Linked DNA regions of Homo sapiens: regions 1, 2, 3 and 4 are each linked to region 5. The links are contacts of gene promoters, found by promoter capture Hi-C in blood cells and fetal thymus (Javierre and others, 2016). All regions are on one chromosome and are shown on one strand. Each heading gives the region's core, a stretch centred on a gene start or on the middle of the fragment in contact. The rest is flanking DNA. Distances are from core to core; before and after follow the strand shown.

Evidence for each region. The method cuts DNA at HindIII sites, captures the fragments that hold promoters and counts their contacts. A CHiCAGO score of 5 or more calls a contact.
Region 1: a contact is called between a fragment that was not itself captured here and the fragment with the promoter of NOLC1 in region 5, in 4 of 17 cell types (activated CD4 T cells, total CD8 T cells, erythroblasts and 1 more). The highest score is 6.2, in activated CD4 T cells.
Region 2: a contact is called between the fragment with the promoter of CUEDC2 here and the fragment with the promoter of NOLC1 in region 5, in 1 of 17 cell types (endothelial precursors). The highest score is 5.1, in endothelial precursors.
Region 3: a contact is called between a fragment that was not itself captured here and the fragment with the promoter of NOLC1 in region 5, in 1 of 17 cell types (naive CD8 T cells). The highest score is 5.2, in naive CD8 T cells.
Region 4: a fragment that was not itself captured here is called in contact with the fragment with the promoter of NOLC1 in region 5 in 1 of 17 cell types (activated CD4 T cells); the score reaches 6.4 in activated CD4 T cells.

Annotation. Positions count from the first base shown.
Region 1 is chr10:102,599,383-102,602,082 of GRCh38, reverse strand. It overlaps SUFU (SUFU negative regulator of hedgehog signaling), which reads right to left. Exons shown (of 12, transcript NM_016169.4): 8 at 2,539-2,650. Among named protein-coding and RNA genes, the nearest start is that of TRIM8-DT, 42 kb to the left of the region's middle. RefSeq lists an enhancer at 1,581-2,331. The HindIII fragment of the contact is 3,650 bases long and covers 1-2,700 here.
Region 2 is chr10:102,431,219-102,433,918 of GRCh38, reverse strand. CUEDC2 (CUE domain containing 2) reads left to right here and starts at 1,345. Exons shown (of 9, transcript NM_024040.3): 1 at 1,345-1,393. RefSeq lists enhancers at 1-343, 344-979, 911-1,080, 1,251-1,380. The HindIII fragment of the contact is 11,516 bases long and covers 1-2,700 here.
Region 3 is chr10:102,524,904-102,527,603 of GRCh38, reverse strand. The region is part of intron 2 of SUFU (SUFU negative regulator of hedgehog signaling); the gene reads right to left. Among named protein-coding and RNA genes, the nearest start is that of SUFU, 22 kb to the right of the region's middle. The HindIII fragment of the contact is 5,320 bases long and covers 1-2,700 here.
Region 4 is chr10:102,505,271-102,507,970 of GRCh38, reverse strand. All of the region lies in intron 1 of SUFU (SUFU negative regulator of hedgehog signaling), which reads right to left. Among named protein-coding and RNA genes, the nearest start is that of SUFU, 2.6 kb to the right of the region's middle. RefSeq lists an enhancer at 2,312-2,700. The HindIII fragment of the contact is 937 bases long and covers 783-1,719 here.
Region 5 is chr10:102,151,097-102,153,796 of GRCh38, reverse strand. It overlaps NOLC1 (nucleolar and coiled-body phosphoprotein 1), which reads right to left and starts at 1,408. Exons shown (of 13, transcript NM_004741.5): 1 at 1,267-1,408. The coding sequence starts at 1,386. RefSeq lists enhancers at 1,298-1,347, 1,518-1,817, 723-1,922. The HindIII fragment of the contact is 8,659 bases long and covers 1-2,700 here.

The sequences.
Region 1 (2,700 bases), core at 201-2,700, 450 kb before region 5:
CTGCTGCTGAAGTGTGAAAAGAGCAAGTGCTTGACACCCCCAAGTAGGCCGGCACCCGGCTGCTATTGCCCAGGCTTGATCAGCTGCTCTGAGCCTCTGATTTAGCTCTGTATCTTCCTTAGACCACAGACAAACCCGCGAAGACCCATGCATAAGAGCTCCCTGGCCCAGAAGTCCTGACTAAGGGGAAATCAGACCCGCAGACAAAATATGGCCCACGCTGGCTGCCCCCCAACAGGGAGAGGAGCAAACACTGGTGCCAGCACATTTTGGGTCAGCTTTCTCAGTTGCAATCCATGTGGTGTATGTGAAATGGGGTCAGGTCCCAGAGTGGGCAGCACAGATATTACCGTCACGCTCACTGATCTGAACTGAGTCCATCATCATCGATCCTGAGATAACAGGAAACTTGAGTCTGACAGGCTTGAGGGGTGTGTTGGAGAATGTTCTTGGCAAAGGAGGAGGAGAAACCATTTCTCAACCAATTGCTAACAAATTGGTAACCAATACTGACAGCCTCAGAGGAAACATTCTATTCCCCTCAGACTACAGGTCCTGGTGCTTTAGAGACCTTACTGGGCACTAAACCTTCAGGAAGGGGAGACAACCCCGGCACCTCGAATCTATTCTCACCCATCTCTCTGTATCTCAGCCAACTCAAGCCAAAGGGTAGAAGCTGCAGCCTCTCTGCCTTATGTTTACAGAGAACCCTTGGGCCAGAACCAATACCCGACTGCCCAGTTAGGGTGTAGGCTGAGAGTCTCGGCTTATGTGTATATCTAGGAGCACAGAGCCTTGTGCCCCATTGCAATGTCCAGGGGTGCAGTAGCTGGAAGTGCCCCCAAGCCAGGGAGTGAGATCTCAGGCCTGTTCCAGATACACAAGCGGGGCAAGAAGGTTGTATCTCTGCAGGAGCTTGTGCCCTTCTGCCTAGAAACCCCAGGCTTCCAGAGGCAGAGAGCCATCTGGACTGAGACTGTGTCCATGTTATAGGCCTTCCAGTACCTCTGGCCTGCCAACAGTGCCAAGGAGGCCCAAAGCGAGAAGCCAAGCTCAGGGAATGGGAAGGAGTGTAGACCCGGGACAGGGTCCAGACTCACAGGTAGAGAGCTTCCATATGTCGTATGACCTGGTGTGGCCATCTGCTGCTGCCAGGGGATGATCAGGATGCCTCCAGCCAGCTACTTCAGGGCAGCTGGCTGGAGAAACCTACAGGCCGGAGTTAAAAGCTGCTCTGAGGTGGCGGTGGAGGCTTCTCCAGGCTTTTGCCAAAGAGCTCAACTCTCAGTACAGCCCTGTTCCCAGAGTAACTCTAGTTCCAGTCAGGTCCCAGCAGGCAGCCTCAACTTTAACCAGCCAGGCCTCCCCTGTGCTATCCTCTTGAGTTCCTTCCCCTGCTTATTAAAATTCTAAGGTGCCCTCAAGGTCGATGCTATGTTCTTCCTCCTCCAAGATGCCCTCCCTAACTACCCCAGATCCTGTGGACCTGTCTTTTCTGTAGTGCACTGAAGCATTACTACTTCTGGGAAACACGATCAGCAACTAGAGCTAGAATCCAGAGAAGCAGCCATTTCCAACAAATCACATCGACAGCCAGATGCACACCATTAAAAGGTAACTGTTTCACTCATGTTCTCCCAAAGGAAGAGCCTGTGCACCCCAGATGGCCCCCTAGGTCCGAGCTTGTCAGACAGCAAATGTGTAATAAAGACTTCATAGAAGAAGGCTAGATCACCCTGGTCTTGCAGGATGATCAACCTCCCTTTCAGCCCAAGGCACAGCAATTTCCTCCCTGGCAGGCAAGGTTCCTGCTTTGGGCTGCCAGCCCCCAGGTATCTCCTGCCAGCAGCTATTCCCTAGAGCTGCCCTGGGACTAAGGGCAGAGGGGGGTGCCCAGCTTCAGCCCTGCCTATCACTCATCCCCTCTATCAGAGGAAGAGAGGTTGGCAGGAAGCGGATCTGACCTCTAGGGTGGCCACAGTCTCTCCGGAGGGCTACAGGGGCCCCTGGACAGGCAGCAGAGGCCTGCAAAAGACTTCCTTTCCCTTCCCTGGGCCCCAGGGAAGAGAGGCAGGAAGAAGGGCCTCAGCCACAGGCATCCAGTATGGGGCTGGCCAGAGAGGGAGGCCCCCAGGGTTGCAGCTATCAGCCGGAGACCAGGCTCCAGGAAGGAAGGAAGGGCAACTCTGGCCAAGACTGAGATAAGGAGGGAACCGTGCTCAGCACAATGGGCTCCCACAAGGCTGGGAGGCCCCAAGTCAGATTTCTCCCCAACCTGGCCTCCTGTCTGTTCACACGGCTCATGTAAATATTTACTGATGTTAATATTCACGGTCTGCTGGGTCCCCTCTGAGGCCCTCTCCTATGACCCACAGATAGATCTGTGTGCCCCAGACCATGCCTGCCCTTAAGCCTAGAGATCCTGGGCCCATCCAGCAAGGGCTATGTGCATTGTTCTCTCTCATGCAATCCACAGGGACAGGCCCTTCAGAAAAAAGTCGTCCTCTTGTTCCAGCCCAGGGACACTGGGGAACTTACGGGGCCCGGTCGTGGGCGAGGCCATTCTGCCGCTGAGGGTTGATTGGTGGAAGGACAGGTTTGCTGTTGATCTCGAGTCCTCTCCTCAGGGTCTCCCGGATCTGCTCTGTGTCTGCAACGACACCACTAAGTTGCCCAGTGGCCCAGTGGGCTCCCAGCAAT
Region 2 (2,700 bases), core at 96-2,595, 280 kb before region 5:
TGAAGGGGACTCTTCCCCTTGTGACCCATTTCAGGGTTCCCAAGAGGGGAGGGCTGTGGGGCTTCCCCACAGGGCAGCACCGGGAATCTGTGGCAGCAGGAACAAAAAGAGGAAGTTGAAGTCTTGTTGGGCCCTGGAGTTCAGCTCTCCTGTCCTAGACAAGCAGCCCTGCCAACATGGGGGATGAAGGCCCCGGGGGGTAGGCATGGTCTACAGGCTGTCCATGACAGGGCTCAGGTGGATCCTCATCCTGGCACCTGCTACCACTCCACCTCTCCCAGACCACGTCCAAAATCCCAGGCTCCACCCTCCGGAGACACAGACCTGTAGCTCACCCCAATCTAGGGGAGACATTGCTGTTAAGGGAATGCAAAAGGTACAGACAGGGTGGGGAAGTCAGTACCTAAGAGACCAGCCTGGGCCACGTGGCAAAAACCCTGTCTCTACAAAAAAAAAAAAAAAAAAAAAAATTAGCTCGGCGTGGTGGCACGCGCCTGTGGTTCCAGCTACTCCAGAGGCTGAGATGGGAGGATCACTTGAACCCAGGAGGTCGGGGCTGCAGTGAGCCATGTTCGCACTCGTGAACCTGCACTCCAGCCTGGGGCTGTAACAGCAAGAAAAGAAGAAAAAGAAAGAGAAGGAAGGAAGGGAGGGAGGGAAAGAAAGGAAAATAAAGAAAGAAGAAAAGAAAAGAGGCCAGGCGCGGTGGCTCATGCCTGTAATCCCAGCACTTTGGGAGGCCGAGGCAGGCGAATCACGAGGTCAGGAGTTTGAGACCAGCCTGGCCAACATGGTGAAACCCCGTTTCTACTAAAAATACAATAAATTATCTGGGCGTGGTGGCGCGCGCCTGTAATCCCAGCTACTCGGGAGGCTGAGGCAGGAGAATCTCTTGAACCCGGGAGGCGGAGGTTGCAGTGAGCCGAGATCGCGCCACTGCACTCCAGCCCGGGAGACAGTGCGAGGCTCCCTCCCAAAAAAAAAAAAGAAGAAGAAAAGGAAAAAAAAGTGAGAGAGAGAGAGAGAGAGAGACGAGAAAAAGAGAGAGAGAAAGAAAGAGAAAGGTTTCGGGTCTCTGACGGATGAGAAGGAACAAGACGGGGATGCAGTCCTACCCACTTCGACTCCACCCCCTCTCAAGACCTTCACGCCTAACGCCTCCCTACGCGCAACAAAACTGGCCGCCAAGGGAGCCCGTCCATAGCCCTGGGACGTTAGAGAATTAGAGCAGGAGCTCCGCCCTGTTGTGGGCAACTTGCCCTTCTCAAACATGGCCGCCACGGCGCCTCTGGAAGGGAACCGCTCTGGGCCCCGCCTTTGATCTCGTTGGTGGGGCTGGGGGATGAGAGCTGCACCGCGCGGGACAAGTCGCCGGCGGCGCCCGACGGAGCAGGTGATTTCCCCTCCTGCCCCCGGCCCAGGGCTAGGAGAGTCGCGGAGAGCGCTGACCCAGGGTACCCGTCCGATGTGTTCCCCCACGGTACCCCCCCCGGGGCCCGTCGGACCCCCATCTCTGATTCTCGCCGTGGCCTGTATCAAGGCACATCCAGTTTGCTCAGGCCTGCCTCGTCATGTGTCCTCCAAGGCCACAGCCGCATCCCTGTGCCTTCGGGCCCACTATTCTGGACGCTTACGGGTGTCCCGCTAGCGGGTTTAGGGAGCTGCTGCTTCAGGGGTCGTCCATCATCGCGGTCCCACTTCCTGTGCTCGCCCTCCCTGTTTGTGCTCCCGCCTGACTTTGGATGCAGGGATCCCTTGTTCCCCTCAATGCCCTTGGTGCCTCTAAGGTCTGACTTGGGTATCAGAGGACAATGATATCCTCTGGGGCCTGCGTTATGGGTCCAGGGCCTCAGGAACCGGGCTTCACAGGGGCTGGGAGAAGCAGTGAAGACCTTCCATGCTAGACCCCTTGCTGCCTCCCTGAGAAGTTCGCTAGGACTCCTTTCACACTAGCTCCCAGGATTCCTCCTCCCACATGGCCTGCTCTCCCTCCACTTTAAGCACCTCCCCACCCCAAGGGAGCAGCATAGTACTTCTTACCCCACTCTCACTTAAATTTGTCCACAGTGTCTCTATCTAGCATCTGGAGGGTCCAGGCCTGTGCTGCCCTTGGGAAGCTCCCAGGCTAGCTGGGAGCAGTGAAGGTGGGGCAGTTAGGGTTGGCTGCAGAAAGGGAGTCCTGCAGAATGAGATTTGGAGAGGCAGAGGGACAGATGCTCTGGGCTGGGAGAGTGGTGTGAGCAAAGATTCTGAAATAGACAATATAGCCAGCCAGGCAGGAGAGGAGATTCAGAATATAGGATGGGGCCACACAATTTGCATCGTGAGAGGTGATGTAGTGTGGTGGTTAACAGTGAGGGTTCTGGATCCAGACAGCCTGGGTGTAAATCTGCCATTAACTTGCCTTGTGACCTTGGGCAAGTTACTTAACCTCATAGTGCCTTCATTTCCTTTCAGGTAAAATGTGGATAATACGGCCGGGCGCGGTGGTTCATGCCTGTAATCCCAGCACTTTGGGAGACCGAGGCGGGTGGATTGCCTGAGGTCAGGAGTTCGAGACCAGTCTGGCCAACATGGTGAAACCCCGTCTCTACTAAAAAATACAAAATAAATTTGCCAGGCATGGTGGCATGCGACTGTAATCCCAGCTACTCAGGAGGCTGAGGCAGGGGAATTGCTTGAACCAGGGAGGTGGAGGTT
Region 3 (2,700 bases), core at 167-2,666, 370 kb before region 5:
AAAAAGCAATGTGCCTCCCTCTTAGTCACTATCAAAGTAGATTCAAATATCTTCATGGCTTTGAATGTCATGATGTACTATAAATATACATATATATATATATATCTTAATGGTATTTCCTTTGAGCCACTTTTGCTACTATTTCCTTTTTGGGGAAATAAAACCGTCACTCAACTCAGTTCTCCTGTCTTCATACTAAAGCTGAGGTCCCACACTGGAATGCTTCCTAAAACCCCACTCCAGCCTCCATCATATCATCCTTTTTCTTTCCTCATCAGTCAACAAATAATTTATTGAATGTCGGCCGGGCGCGGTGGCTCACGCCTGTAATCCCAGCACTCTGGGAGGCCAAGGTGGGCGGATCACAAGGTCAGGAGATCGAGACCATCCTGGCTAACACGGTGAAACCCTGTCTCTACTAAAAATACAAAAAGTTAGCCAGGCGTGGTGGTGGGTGCCTGTGGTCCCAGCTACTTGGGAGGCTGAGGCAGGAGAATGGCATGACACCAGAAGGCGGAGCTTGCAGTGAGCTGAGATCGCACCACTGCCACTGCACTCCAGCCTGGGCGACAGAGCGAGACTCCATCTCAAAAAAAAAAAAAAAAAAAAACAATAATAATAATTATAATTTATTGAATGTCACATTCTTTACATTGTCTTCAAACTCTGCAACCTCATCTTGTTCCACTGTTCTCTCTTACCAAGCCTCAGATGCACTGGCCTTCTTTCTTTTCCTTAAACACTTCGAGGTCCGTGCTGCCCTCAGGGCCTTTATACTAGCTGTTTCACTGCCTAGGACCTTCATCAGGACTCCCAGCATTGTACAACTCCAGGGGGCAGCAATTGCACAGAATAATGTGAACGGTGGCCCTAGAGTTGTACAATGTGACAGCCCTGGCTGCCACCGGTCTTTGAGGTCTCAGTTCAAATCTTCAAGGAAGCCATCACTGATTACTGCTAACAGCATCCTCCCCACCCACCTCAACCACTACTTCTACCCATGTAAGCTCCAGAGTACCATCCCTGCTTTTTTAATTTTATTTATTTTTTTAAGACAGGGTCTCACTCTGTCACCTAGGCTGGAGTGCAGTGGCACGATCTTGGCTCACTGCAGCCTCTGCCTCCTGGGCTCAAGCGATCCTCCCACCTCAGCCTCCCAAGTAGCTGGGACTACAGGCACGCACCACCATGCCTGACTAATTTTTGTATTTTTTGTAGAGATGGGGTTTCACCACATTGCCCAGGCTGCTCTCGAACTCCTGGCTCAAGTGATCCACCCCCCCGTGGCCTCCCAAAGTGCTGGGATTAGAGGCATGAGTCACCACACTTGGCGCCCTGCTTTACTTTCATTTTTTTAAGAGACAGGGTCTCCCCATGTTGCCCAGGCTGGCGTGCAGTGGCTATTCACAGGCACAATCCCACTACTGATCAGCACAGGAGTTTTGACCTACTGGGCCAGGTCACCCCTCCTTAGGCAACCTGGTGGTCCCATGCTCCTGGGAGGTCACCATATTGATGCTGAACTTAGTGTGGACACCTGACTGGCATAGTGCATAATAGCCCAGAACTCCTGAGCTCAAGTGATCCTCCCACCTCAGCCTCCTGAGTAGCTGGGGCCCTGCTTTATTTTCAACACAGCACTTGTACTATCTAAAACTATATAAAATTTTTCATGTTTCTCCAATAAGAATATAAGATTCATGAGAGCAGAAACCTTGCCTGCTTTGCTTTCCATGGTATCCTCAGCACTAAGAAAGCACTGGATATTTAGGTAATGTGCTCTAAAAATTTATGAAAATAGGCCAGGTGCAGTGGCTCATGCATGTAATCCTAGCACTTTGGGACACCGAGGCAGGTGGATCACCTGAGGTCAGGAGTTCAAGACCAGCCTGGCCAACATGGCAAAACCCCATCTTTACTAAAAATACAAGAAACTAGTTGGGCATGGTACTGCGTGCCTGTAATCCCAGCTACTCAGGAGACTGAGGCAGGAGAATCGCTGGAACCTAGGAGGCAGAGGTTGCAGTGAACTGAGATCGCAAGATCGCACCACTACACTCCAGCCTGGGCGACAGAGCAAGGGTCCATCTCAAACCAAACAAAAAAAGAAAATAAATTAAGTGCTTGACACATACTAAGCACTGTGCCAGTTGCTGGGATGGAGGTACTCCCTCACCTCATAAAGCAAGGTTCAGGCCAGATACGGTGGCTCATGCTTATAATCTCAGCACTTTGGGAGGCTGATGTGGGCAGATCACTTAAGGCCGGGAGTTTGAGGCCAGCCTGGCCAACATGGCAAAACCCCATCTCTACTAAAAATACAAAAATTAGCCAGGCGTGGTAGCGTGCCCTGTAATCCCAGCTACTTGGGAGGCTGAGGCAGGAGGATCACTTGAACCCAGGAGGTGGAGGTTGCAGTGAGCCGAGATTACACTACCGCACTCCAGCCTGGGCGACAGAGAGAGACTCCGTCTCAAAAATAAAAAATAAAATAAAATAAAATAAAATAAAGCAAGGTTCAGACAATTTTTCCAAAATCACATACCTCCTCCCACAGAAGGGTTCTGACTCCTATGAAAATGCCCTTGGAATGTCTCCTCTCCTATGGGAATAAGGGTCCAAACTGAAGAAGTGCTCTTGAATGAGCTAAAAGCTCGGGCTTGGTGCTGGGCCAGGAGAATTCTCCGTCTCCAGTGGTGA
Region 4 (2,700 bases), core at 2-2,501, 350 kb before region 5:
AAAAAAAAATGGATAAGAAATTTTGGTAGCTAGAGAAATAGACCAAATAGAAACCATCAGTGGAAGGAAGTCTGCATTTAGCCCACAAACACGGCATTTGAGCTGCCTCAAACATCTGACCATTCCACAGACTGCAAAAGCTTCACCTGCCCCTGGGACATCGATGGAGTACACTTTGCAACTGGGATAGCATGCTGGTGGAAAGCTAACAACCAAATAAAAGACATGTTACAAGTGATCCCAGTCAATGGTGCCAGCACCAGGCAATTTAAACACTATTTAAAACCAGTTGGTCTTGTTTCGTCCTCTTTCACCAGGATATTATTTGCCTTTGTGGATAGAAATCCCTATTCTCTGTTAGGAAATGCTAAGTTATTTATAGAACTTTTAAGAAAGTTGCTACAAATAGCTTAGCATCTCAACAGAGGAAGAGGGACAACTCTCCATGTCTGCCTTAACTGATTTCAACAAATCACTTGACTAATTCTACAACAGGTTGGATTTAGAAAAGTTTGTGGGGCAAGGGAAGAAAGAAAAGAGTAGAGATCCCTGGAAAGACCCCATTAGAGCTACAGAACTCCAGAGCAGATGAGAGCCACTACAGGCCCCATACCTGCTCCAGTTTCCTGCTGCAAATTTCCAAACCTGCCCCGCTACAGCCTAGGTCCATCCTGCACCAAGCTGCAAAACTGTGTTTACCATTCTCTGCTCCATCTGCAGCATCCCTGCAGCCCTCTTTCTCACCAAGTCTCCCACAAGGTGTCACATCAAGGAGAGAAGCTTAACCTTCAAACTCCAACTGCAAGGAACTACCAAGAGTCAGATAAAATTAACCCTGTCCCCAAGCACAGAGTATTCTGTTTACTTACTACTCAGAGGCCAGATGAGTATGTGGAAAAAAATCGCATTTTACACTTAGCAAATGATGTTATCCAAGGTCCCAGGGCATCCCTCAACTTAATTCCTTGAACACCCAACTTCTCTCTGCAGGGCAGTTGCAGGACTGAAGTGGGCCATGAGTACAGGTTCTGCCTCTCTGCTTTGATCCTTGCTCACCAAAGTCTCAGCTTTCAGTTAGAATGTCCCCACTACTCAGGGATCACCAGTCACAGAGCCACACTGCTATTGCAAAATGAATCCCAAGCTACCCTGGGCCACAGACAGACCCAGACAGCCTGGGTCAGTCATCCTGCTAGAAACCTCGTGGGATCCCAAATGTGAGGAATATAAATGAATTTCAGGATCTTATTTTTGCAAACCCCTCCACATCTTAGAAAGTACCAGTCACTGATGGCTGGTCGCACTGGCTCACGCCTGTAATCCTAGCACTTTGGGAGGCCGAGGTGGGTTGATCACTTGAGGTCAGGAGTTCGAGACCAGCCTGGCCAACATGGTGAAACTCTGCCTCTACTAAAAATACAAAAATTAGCTGGGCAAGGTGGCGTGTGCCTGTAATATCAGCTACTTGGGAGGCTGAGGCACGAGAATCGCTTGAAACCGGGAGACAGAGGTTGCAGTAAGCCAAGATCGTGCCACTGCACTCCAGCCTGGGTGACAGAGCAAAACTCTGTCTCAAAAAAAAAAGAAAGTACCAGTCACTGTGCTGTTTCTCTTTATACTTTTCTGCATCTAGGAAGGGCTTTCACAAAGTGCTGTATAATCCCTTTTCTTCATTATCACATGTTGGCCCATCTCTGAAGATATGGCTGTTAACAAGCTTGCAGCAGGAAGGAAAAAAAAATTGCCCTTAGTCCTTTGCACATGCTTTCATACCTTTTACATACAATTCTATCCTTTATGGCTACTTGGGTGACATAAAAATAGTTGCCTGAATCTGTGTAGGGATTTCTCCTCACACTCAAATGAGGCCTGAACAAACAGCGTGGCAGAGCCAGGCCCACTTCTTTTTTTTTTTTTTTTTTTTTTTTTTTCAAATAACAGAGTTAGGGTCTGGCTACGCTCCCCACACTGGTCTCGAACTCCTGGCCTCAAGGGATCCTCAAGGCCTCCCAAAGTGGTGGGAATACATGCATGAGCCACTGTGCCCAGCCCAGGCCCACTTTTCTCCTGACACATGACAACAAGTTCATCACAACACATAGTTAAATATAAAGGCACAATGAGAATGGGTCATTAAGCTAGCAAGAGCTGCTTTCCACTCAGAAGCGCTCTTCAACAACTCCTCTCAACCAGAGAACAGTTCGCCAGTGAGAGAGGACTGCGACACCAGTTCCACCTCCTCCCGTCTACTCTGACAGAGGAGGCTGTTCCCTACAATCCTCCCTAGACAGCAGGTGGCTGGTCCCCAGGCTCTCCACGCTGTTGGCCTCTTGGCATCCTCCCATTGATGCGGGCAGCTGGCCTCAGCCCTGCACAGCCTACTGACACCGATGTCCAGGGGAAGCAACAGGTTTTCACCAGGAGGAAGACTCAGTCCTAAAAGGAGAGGTAACCAGCAAAGATGTCCACTTGCCCCTTCAGGTCTACCCTTTGGCTACACCCCCAAGCAGCTGCAGAACAGTCTTTCAAGACTCATTGAAGATCATCTTACACAATGCCTGCATGAATGTGGTCCTGGACAGTTTCAACCAATATCTCAGTTTTTGGTCCAGCAAGACTTTGAGGACAGGTTCTTTTCCAGAGTCCCCAGAACATCTGTTCTGCCCAAATGCTGAAGGAAGAAACAGGCTGCAAACAGGA
Region 5 (2,700 bases), core at 159-2,658:
GGAGGCTGAGGCAGGATAATCACTTGAACTTGGGAGGCGGAGGTTACAATGAGCCGAGATCGCACCATTGCACTCCAGCCTGGGCAACAGAGACTCCGTCTCAAAAAAAAAAAAAAAAAAAAAAGAATCCTAATTCTGAAATGTCCAATTCCATCCAGTCCACTGTGAAAGCACTCTCCGCAGTCTCCTTAACAGTCAACTCTAAACAGTTTCATTAAGAAAGCAGTTAGATCACATGGCAGCCTGTCCCAGCTTAAGGAAGTTTTGAGGCTGATCTGATTCTTTGCTTTCGCAGCCTGATTCTGCTAAAAGTGCAAGCCATCCTTCCTAGTCATGCTATCATCCCTGCTGAAGACCCCCCCTCTCTCCTCTCTCAAAGTGTCTTCCCATGCAGGAATGTCCGTTGATGTAGATTACAAACCTTTCACATTCCTGGTTCTCTTACTCTTACATGTGTTTGGAGCATCCTAAATTGCCATAACTATGGTACAGCTTTCACTTTTACAAGATTCCTCTGTACCAGCACTGAGATTGCTACTCTTACACATCATCTTACTGAAACTCACAAAAATCCTATAAAGTGGATGATGACATCCCTGTAGAAAGACTCAGAAAGGTTAAATAAACTGCCCGGGTCACGTATCTAAAAAGTGGCAGAGCCTGGTCCCAAACCTAGGTTTGTTTGATTCAATTAGCCAAAGCTCCAAGCCCACTACTATGCCTACTTGGTAGGGCTGTTGATGACTCTCAATTCTCAGTGTAACTCAAAACAAAACTCTGCTTCTACTTTCATTCATTTTCTTCTTTACAAACGAAAATCCCAGACTTCATTCTAAAGAAATTTCACTTGCTTTTGAATCCCAGTAAATGTGACTGAGGCTAAGGTCAAATCACGGTTTGCCTCACCCAACGAAAAGCCCCCCAGAAGATGCCGAAGAACCAACGTCCTCAGTGGAACAAGACTCTACCTCCCCGCTGCACTCTGCCAGCCATGTGGCTTGGGGCCACGAGGCTCCCACGCTGCCGCCGCTGCACAGGTCACAAGAAAAAAGCAACAAGACTCAGCGATATCTACTCAGACATGGAGGAAGGTAAGCGACCGAGGCCGCAGGCTTTCTCTGGTCACTGCCGAGGGGTCGGCGTAAAGGCCTTGCAGACACTGGACTGGCGGACCCCCAGACTTCCCCACCTGGAAACCTAAGCACGTCAGGGCCTGAAGCCTTGTGGTCATCTCAGCCCGGTCCCCGCCCCAAGCCCGGAACTCACAGCTCCTGTCGCTTTGGCGAACTTATTGGCCACCTCTGAGAGTTGGTTATCGCGCAGGAAGCCGAGCACGAGGGGATACAGGTCGCTGGGAACCACGCGGCGAATGCCGGCGTCCGCCATCCTCCAGGCAATACGCGTCACTACCGTTGTCGACGCAGCACGACTCAGGAACCCAACAGGGGCAGTGGGCGGGCCTGTGTTACGTCATTGCGCCGCGCGGGCGCATAACGGAAAGGGTGGGCTCCACAGGGCAGTCCCACCTTCACCTCAGAGGTAGGGTAGACGGGAAATCTATAAACTCTTTCCGGTCCCACGCGTATCGCCATCTTGGTTAAGGGCGGAGCCCACCGGCCGCCAGCTTGTGGAGGCGGAGCTCTGACGTCAGGGATCACGCCCTCGGCGTGGCGGGAAAACTCGGGACTTCCCGCGCAGTCTTTCTGGGGGAGGTACCTTTTCTCAGAGCAGCGGTTTCCCGCGCCCCTGCTGGGACTCGGATTCCAGAGTAATGAGTGGACAAGCGGGCTCGAACAGTTGTTCTACAAGATCTCCCAACCGCCCCCATGGCGTACTGGCACGGCCAATGGATTCTCGCCCTTCATCTTCACTGCCTCCAATACCCAGGGAGGCCCTTTCTGATACCATCCCAGCCTCCAGACTCCTGCCTCTGCTGCAGAAGATCCTTCGGGTTATCCGTCGTGAGGGTGGGAGGTGTTGATTTCCCAAGCTGCCCCTCCCATCTCCCTTATATTCCGCCTTAGGTCAGCTCCATGAAGAGGAAAGGTGTCATGCACCAAACCTGAATCACACACAGCAACAATCTATTCAAGCTGAAGAGATTGTTGAAAATAACCCTTCTTCCTCCGGGATCAGAGTTCACACTCTGCCTTTGTCATGAGTAACTCCAGTATCAATGCCTTTGTCATGAGTAACTCCAGTATCAATGCTCAGACCTACCAAGTTAATTCCAAGTTCTGCCACATTCCAGATATTAGCAGTTAGCAATCCCTTCAATCCTACCCACTACCCCTTGGCTACCTCCCACTAATGCCGCTCAGGAAAGATAAGGATCCTCATGGGAACACACCCCCCTCTCCTATATAAAATTGGCCAGGCATAGTGGCTCACAACTGTTATCTCAACACTTTGGAAGGCCTAGGTGGGAGGATCCCTTGAGCCCAGGAGTTAAGAGGCCAGCCTGGACAACACAGTGAAACCCCCCTATCTCTACAAAAAATTTTTAAAATTAGCCAGGTGTAGTGGCATGCACCTGTGGTCCCAGCTACTTGGGAGGCTGGGGCAGGAGGATCAACTGAGCCAGGGAGGTCAAAGCTGCAATGAGCTATGATCCTGCCACTGCAATCCAGCCTGGGCCACAGAGTGAGATCCTATCTCAAAAATCAAAAACAAAGCTGGGCACGGTGGTTCATGCCTGTA